2 separate regions of the Homo sapiens genome follow, and region 2 is linked to region 1. The links are contacts of gene promoters, found by promoter capture Hi-C in blood cells and fetal thymus (Javierre and others, 2016). All regions are on one chromosome and are shown on one strand. The core of a region is centred on a gene start or on the middle of the fragment in contact, and the rest is flanking DNA. Distances in the headings are between cores, read along the strand shown.

Region 1 (4,236 bases), core at 1,245-3,744:
CAAGAACAATGCTAAAAATCTACCTAGAACAGGAAATGAGGGTGGAAGTGTCCAATCTGATTCCAAGGTTTCAGACACTGGTGTAATGACCAACAGAGATACATTTCCCATTAGTAGTTATGGCTGTTTAAGAACAAAATAAACATATTATTTTTTTCTTTCAATTATGTTATCTTCTCAAATAGCTACTAAGTTGTTAGGACATAACTACTTATTAGGTTGTGTCAAAGGAAAATAAATCTCAGAACCCAAAATCACTAAGTCAAAGGTTAAAGTCAAGCTGGGAACTGCCTCAGACAAACCTGCCTCCCATTTTATTCCTAAATAAGATAGCTACAAAGAAAAAGAAGCTACATATCACCCTCATAATTTGCCCACATGGGCCTCAAGATCTTTACCCTAAAACACTTCTGTTGAATTTCACCCTGGCAATGTATTCATAAATTGATAGCTCATCTTCACAAGTGCCAAACAAAAGACAGAACTCTAAAGTCATCCTTCTGCTCACCTGAGATAAATGCTTATCTGATTGCTGACTCTGCCGTATTGTTTATGTGAAAATGCAGACTCACTGAGCCAGTCTAAGACATAAGTGATTATTCCTCTATCCCTCCTGCACATGTAAATTGTATTCAGTAAAAGGCTAATCAAAGACCCAAAAGAATGCAACCTTTTGTCTCCCATCTACCTATGACCTGGAAGCCCCCACTTCGAGTTGTCCCACTTTTCCAGGAGAACCAATGTATACCTTACATATGTGATTGATGTCTCATGTCTCCCTAAAATGTATAAAACCAAGCTGTGCCCCGACCACCTTGGGCACATGTCCTCAGGACCGCCTGAGGTTCTGCCACGGGTGCATCCTTAACCTTGGCAAAATAAACTTTCTAAATAAATGAACTGGGAAATATTTCTGGCCTAAGGGCATCATGAAAAAATTACTGAGAAAATTTGGGAACCTCTTCTCTAGACTCAAGAGACTCTACGTCATATAGGCACCTTTCTTGTCCCAGCTAATTTTAAATTTCACTCTTCTGAACAAATGCCCTCTGAATGCCAGTTATCCCTGCAAGAAACTCTTCTACCTCAATCTCAACGGAGAACATCCACTTATGTGGAATTACTTACCATTTGCACAAAGAAATCCTCACACCTCACTGCCAGGCAGCAGGAGGAAAGAACAAGGGTTAAAAGCAAGTGTTCTGGAGACAGACCACAAGCAAGTTTCTTAGCCTTCCTATGCCTCAGTTTCCTCGCGTTGTAAAACAGGGATGATAATAATGCCTACTCCACAGGGTTACTGTGTAGCTTCAATGACAGTTATAGGCAAGGACACTTCATTTTCATTTAAGACAAAAAGGAAAATCTGAAATGCTTGGCACAGCTCCTGGCATACAGATCTTCAATAATGCTGGGTGTTATTTTTATTCCTGTCTCTGTATGGAGCATGACCACTGGGTTCCAAAATGTATTCTACTTGGAAATCAGGCCACAGTCCCGTTAAGGATGGTGCTGAGTTTACTGGTGGCAGCGAGCTCCTTACCCCAGCAGAAAAGGGGCAGAGGCCGGGGGAAGGAGAACTTTTTTTAAAGGACTGATATGAGGTCCTTAGCTAGCAACTTCCCCCAGTGCTCAGGGGTTCTGAAGACACAGCTTGGTGCAAATTCACTTCTGACACAGGAAAAACAATTCAGAGGCCATGGATCTACTTCGGGGCGGTCCTCACGTAACGAAATGAAACGTTCAGAAACTGGTTTATTTATTTTTCTCTTGGGCCCATTTCTTTTTCGACATCCTTAGAGGACAGAAGGCAGCCCTCCCAGTTAGTTTCTCTTTCCCTCTCAACCCTGCAGCTTCCCGGCCGCCTCAAAGTGGCTTTTTGGACTCCTCTCAGCCTCAGCGGTTCCCAAGGTGACACCCTGAACCCCAGGGCGGTCCCTCGCGGCTCAGCCCCAGCCCGCAGTCCCCTCCCACACCGTGCCCAGGCCCTCCCCACCAGCCCGGCCCCCCGAGGCCCACACCTGGAGCATTTCCTGGCAGAAGGCGCGCACCGAGCGCAGCGAGGCGAGGTCCAGCTCCCGGACTATGAGCTCGCCCACCCCGCTGACGCCAGGCTCTGGGCCGCACTCCGCGGCCTGGCGGAGCTCGCGGCGGAGCTGACCCGCCGCCTCCTCGGCGCGCGCGCGGTCCCGGCAGCCCATGATCACCCGCGCTCCCAGGCGCAGTAGCTCGGCGGCCGTGGCGCGGCCCAGGCCGCTGTTCGCCCCGGTGATCAGCACAGTCTTCCCGTGCATGAGGCCGGGGTCCCCGCCTCTGCGCAGCCGCTGGACCCTGGGCCCCACGAACCGGCGGGCCGCCAGCCACAGCGCCCCGCCCAGAGCGGCCAGTACTGCCGCCGCAGTGGCCACTGCCATCGTCAGGCCCGAGGGCCCACCGGCCCCTCCACGGGAGTTCCGCAGCCGCCGCCTTACCGGAACCCAAGAGACCACCTGTACGCGGAGAACGCTGGGGCGCGGCGGGTCGGCCCCTGACGGTGCGCGTGGGGCATGCTGGGACTTGTAGTTTCCCTCTGGGGGGGTCGCCTGATTGGTTGTGAGAGTTCAGCGCCCTGGGTCCTGCGCCCTCCGTGGAAGCTCCTCCCAGCCTAATGATGGAGGCTGGGCAACCAGCACAGTGTTCAGGGTGCTGGGGTTCATACGTATTGAAATCCCAGAGTAGTGGCGGACTTCCCCATGGGAATGTCTGATGAGTACTTTGAATCACAGATCTCTGTACAGGCCCTGTTACAAATGCCACTCCTCAGGGCATTTCGTGTGTTTTCCTTTGAGGGCTCTTGGGACTTGTAAATTCAGTTCAATTCACCTTCTGAGGAATGGGCCCTGACAAGCTGAAGTCTGAGGTAGGACTGTTTTTCATAGATGAGACAAAGAATTAAGCAACATGAATCAGTTGGAAATAGAATGGTCGAGTAGTTCTCAAACTTAAATGCACATCAGAATCACCTGGAGGACTTGGGGTGGGGGTTCGGGGTGGGGGAATGAAACAAAACGAAAACAAAAAACCAGGGCCCCAGTATTAGAGTTTCTAATTCAATAGGTACAGGATGGGGCCTGATAATTTGCACTTTTAACAAGTTTCCAGGTGCTGCTGCTGCTGCAGATCTGGGAACCACACTTTGAGAACCACTGAACAAGACATTATGTCATTGGTCCCTATTAAAAAAAAGAAAGCCATCTTCAAATGATCTTCACACTGGCAGAGGTACAGTGGGAAAAGCTTGGACTTATTGTAAATATAGGCTTCTGAGCAGGCCATTTACAAATGCCTCCCTGCCCTCTCCATAGGACTATTACACACAACGATGGAAGGCAAAGTGCTTGGCTCACTGTAAAATGCCTCATTAATATCAGGGTTAGTGTCACAGGGACCCTTCTTCAAGCTACAAACTTCATAGCTGTAGACCAAGCTACTTTTAAAGACTCATTCGTTCGTCTGCCTCTCCATCCAATATGTGCCTGGCCCTGCCTGTTCCCTGTTAGAGCCACAGAGAAATGGGACACCATTTCTGCTCTCAGGGTGCTTACTTTCTGGAACTGTGATCTCCCACTTCCCACCCTCCACCCATTGCAGGTTCTCCAGACAAGGAAAAAGAACCACAGCTTGTGTCGTTTGAGACAAACTCCCCAATAATTGTGATAATCCATCTTCCACTCCCTTACATTTGGGAAGGATGTAACATGCAACTAATAGTCAGAATACAAAGAAAAAGGGATGGATTCCAGGAGGTTTCTTATGAGTAATGAGAATGGAGCTCAGAGGTGGGAAAGAGCACTCTTACTGGGGATTATACAAGGCACCAGGAACAGGAATCATGAGAGGTGGTCCTACACCACCCTATCCCCAATTTGAAGCTGCTACTCAAACTCATTGATCCCCCAGCATATGTTTCCACTTTATTGTCCTTTCTACCCATCCACATCTTGCCCATCCATCAAAATCACAGGCTACCTCAAGTCTTTCTTTCCTGACCACTTCCAGCCTATAAAGATCTCTGCTCCCTTCATGTGTGACCCTCAGGGTCATGTGTGACCCTCACTGGCACTGAAGACAAACAGCCTTCTAGTATTGGCTGTTTGAGTTTGCACATTTGACTTCCTTGACCAGATTGTTAAGGTTTCAAGTTTCCTAGAGGATAGGATTGTGTCTGCGTACCTCTTGTGGTCTTTGCATGGGAGG
Region 2 (4,007 bases), core at 703-3,202, 1.3 Mb after region 1:
TCATTGCATCAAATAACAGCATAACATCATAGGGTGACCCAACTAAAGCCAAGCTGGAATTCACAGTCTTTCTGGCCACATGAGTAGAAGTCTGGTCATTGCTCTTGGAATCTGTTTAAATGAGCTGGTATACACGGAAGCTTTTTAGGAGTGAAGGGATGCAGAGACTCCTGGGGAGACAGATAGTGTAAGGAGGGGAATGGGAACCATACCAGGGAATGGTATGGTGACTGTCTCTCCCTCCAGCCCAAGACAGGGGTTCTGGATCTCTGTCACTTGTAGCCAGAGTTCTAAGTAACACACTTTATCAGTTTGCTAGGAGGGGTATAATGAGCGAATGGATGAAAAAAGTCTTCATAAATAACAAATGTTGTATTACTTCCAAGTCACATTTGATGGTCTGGAAAAAACACTGAAGGGTACACATAATGGTCACTCAGTGAATATCTATTAAATGAATGAATCAAACTGGCTGAAGGAGGAGGAGGAAGAAGAAAAAAAGGGAGAAGAAGAGGAAAAAGGAGGGAAGGAAAGAAGAATAAGAGTGGGTAAGAGGAAAAAGAAGGAAGGGAAGGGAAGGGAAGGAAAGGGAAGGGAAAGGAAAGGAAGGGAAGGAGGGAGGGGAGGGGAGGGGAAAGGGAGGAGAAGGAGAAACCCACACACAGAACTCACTGTATCTGAAAATTCTAGGGATAGGTCTAAATTCAGGCATGGCTGATTCAGGCCCTCAGAAGCTGTGGACAGGACCGTATCTCTCACCAAACTTTGGCGCTGCTTGTCTCTGTGTCGCCTTCATTCTCAGGCTCTGTCTGAAGTAGCAATGCTTCCACCAGTGGCTCTCAGTGAACATCCTACCAGCTTAGCACCCTCATGGCCCTTTCCTCATAGCTCCAATAGAAGTTCCATGATTGATTCTGATTCACTGACTTGAGCCATCTGCCCATTCTTGAACCAATTACTGTGACCAGGGAGATGGAATAAGCAGATCGGCCAGCCCTGGGTCACACGTTCACTCTGGAGCAGCTTACAGGTGGGTGGGGGTCGGTTGCTGGTCCCACCTGAACTGCATGAAATGAGCATGGGGGAAGGGGATTTCGCCCAAAGGAGAGCTGGGGTGCTGCTTGTTGAAGTAGAAAAACGAGGTGCTGGACATGCAAAAATCACAGTCTCCTACGTTCCTGTGTGATACCAAGACTGCTTCTGCAGCAGAAAAGGCAGAAAGAAGGGTGGGCCCTTAACTTCCATAAGCGATGCACTCTTAGATGTCTATGAACTATAGAGTCAAGGAAATTCAAATGTTTGTACCAGATCCAGGCTTTCTCTTGAATCACAGGTAACTGTTTTTCCAACTTCCATTAGTTTTCTCTCATTTGGGGAGCCATTTTGAACCATTAGAGAAGCTGTTAAAATGGTTTCAGGAGATGCCTGGTGTTTTCTTATAGAACTCCTGGTAAATTCATTTACACCATTGGAGTGAGTCCCTGCTGAATTCAACATTCCTTCTTCTAATTTGTCCAAAACTTCAAACGCTCATTTTCTTAACCCACCCAGTTTCTCTATACATCTATCTCCAGCAATAGTTTTTGGCATTCTTTAATGGTCATTCCTTTTCCCACTGGAACCAAGTGTTGAATCACCTCATAGCAGTTACAGTGTCCATGACGATGAACAGAGAATGTGAAAGTGGCTCTGAGGTGTGGGCAGCTTGCTGAGTGCTAAAGGTCTCTGAGAGAGACTCCTGTGGCCTTTGCCTCTGAGGATCTACTCACCCTTCTGCTGATAAATGTATTCTCTCCTCCACTCTTAGATCCTAGGTTTTGGTGGAGCTTCTCACCATAATTAGGGCTGGAGCCTATAATGTAAGCCTAAAAACCAACTAGATTATCACAGCTCCCCAGTCACAACAATTAATTTGGGACTCAGTCAGAAATAATGAGAGGCAATGAGACACTGGCAGAATTTTCTGGGAAAGAGACCGCTGCTATTAATATTTCCTGCTGGACTTGAATCTGAGGGAATATCAGGTTGGGAGCTAAGGCTGCCATTTAGTACCCTGAGAGACGGATCTGGCCTCCAAATGGAGTCAATCCAGAGGAAGTGGAGTTGAAGGTGAGGAAGAGGGAGAGACGAGAGAGAGGCTAGACCCTGGTGACATTGACTGAGTGAAGTGCCACCTGAAACCAGCCCAACCTCTGCCTTTTAAGAGAAGTGAGTTGATAAGTTCTCTTTTTGCTTACCCTGGTTTGTGCTGGGATTTCTCTCCCTGGAGAGCAAAAGTTACCAAGTAGATGCAACCCTATTGTATTTCAATACCCTCTCAGTCCCCACCAGCCCATGGGTTGACATCTGGTCACATTAACAACAGCACAATGGAGGCTCTTAGCTTCCATGCACTGCACATGGACTCAGCACCCCTCCAAGTCTCTCTCTCTTATTTCTTAGTGAAGATTTCACCAGTGGGTGTCTTATATGTTCAGGAACAATTTTGGTCATGTTCTTTCCTGACATTCTCTTATAAAATGACTGTGGCCAGAGGAGTGGGATGAGACCACTGACCTCATTCTGATCATGAGCAGGGCTGGGAGGAGAGTGAGTACAGCTGGCAGCCTCCATGAGGAGCACTCAATTCACATGGAGGAGAGGCCATCCATGGAGAAGAAGGGAGCACTATTGCCAGAAGAACAGAGAAGAGCGAGCTAAACACACAAACAAGGGGGCCCGCCATGGGTAGAAGGGCAAGAAGTGCTGAGACCACCCACTGATGAGGACAGGAAGGCCTGGGGGAGGGAACACATGTGCCAGTGGTCACTGGGTGAGAAGGTAGTGGGGCTCAGACTCAAGCCCAGGGGACCAGGGTGCTCCCCCTGCTCACCCATGCCTTTGCTGGAGAGCCATGAACAGTTTAGCAAGGGTCAGGAATGTGTGAAAGTTCACACTGCCAGTTCTGCCCAATCCACAGTCAAGTTCAAGTGTATTCCTGGATGGGGAGCAAAGGCAAGATCTGTCTGACAACACCAATTTCCCCCAACCTGAGTGCCAGCCCCCAAGGCTCCCTGCAATATAAACTGCCATGGAACACTGGCCTTAGACCCCTGCAGGCTTCCTACCCTCAGAAACAGCCATTCTATGGAATTACAATGTGGGGCAGGCTTGATCCAAACACTCCTGACTCACTGCATTGCAGCCATGCCCTGTGGGCTCTGATCACACAATTCTCTCACTCTTGATGAGCTTATTCCCCTGCTCCTTCATACTTTCCTCTCTCCCATCATCCCGGAATTCCCTTGCTCATTTCTATAATCTAAAGTCTTTCCTCTTCTTTCTCTAAGATTTTTCTTCTTCAAACCCCACCCCAACGTTCAAATCTGAGACTTCTCAATAGAAAGAACCCCAAATTGGAAGCAGGAGGCATGGGCGAAGGAGCCAACCCTGGTGCTGCCTCCTTGGATGACCTTGAGCCAATTCCCACACCTCTCTGGGCTCCAGCTTGCTCTTTCCAAGGCATTGCAGGCAAACGCTGGGATTCCCCATGTCATCTGGCCCACTATGAGCACAAAAGATGCCCCGTCTTCCACCACCCCTGACCCCAAGCCTCTGTCCCTCACACCAGGGCTGCCTTCTGTCCCCAGGTTAGACCTGAATGATGGGAAGAGATGTTCTTGCCCCTGGAGACCGGGCAATCCAGGGCTGTTTCTGTTTTAAAAATAAACCATATGATTCTTTCGGATTTGGGGGTTGAAGAGCAAAAAGAAAGAGGATATAAGAGAAGCTTCAGGGGTGATTGCCAAAAATGTTTCCCACCCACCAATTTCTTAAACTAGGAGCATCTCAAGGGGGAGCTGACCACATGGTCTTGATTTACTAAAACTTCACTCATTAGGCTGGTATCCTTTCAAGCATATTGGACAGCTAACAGGCGAGAAGCTTTTCAAAGCCCCTTCCCCTCCATACTGGGGCTGGCAGGGGGCCAGGAGGGAGGCCCCAGAGCAGAAGCACTTGTGCAGCCA

What was found. The method cuts DNA at HindIII sites, captures the fragments that hold promoters and counts their contacts. A CHiCAGO score of 5 or more calls a contact.
Region 2: a contact is called between a fragment that was not itself captured here and the fragment with the promoter of RDH14 in region 1, in 2 of 17 cell types (activated CD4 T cells and M2 macrophages). The highest score is 7.9, in activated CD4 T cells.

What each region holds. Positions count from the first base shown.
Region 1 is chr2:18,558,159-18,562,394 of GRCh38, forward strand. It overlaps RDH14 (retinol dehydrogenase 14), which reads right to left and starts at 2,495. Exons shown (of 2, transcript NM_020905.4): 1 at 2,022-2,495. The coding sequence starts at 2,414. All of the region lies in intron 10 of NT5C1B-RDH14 (NT5C1B-RDH14 readthrough), which reads right to left. LOC105373456 (a long non-coding RNA gene) reads left to right here and starts at 2,018. Exons shown (of 6, transcript XR_007086234.1): 1 at 2,018-2,533. RefSeq lists enhancers at 1,655-1,704, 2,515-2,564, 2,625-2,674, 2,685-2,904 and a silencer at 1,915-2,424. The HindIII fragment of the contact is 4,929 bases long and covers 1-3,274 here.
Region 2 is chr2:19,841,450-19,845,456 of GRCh38, forward strand. No RefSeq gene overlaps it. Among named protein-coding and RNA genes, the nearest start is that of LINC00954, 25 kb to the right of the region's middle. The HindIII fragment of the contact is 3,629 bases long and covers 139-3,767 here.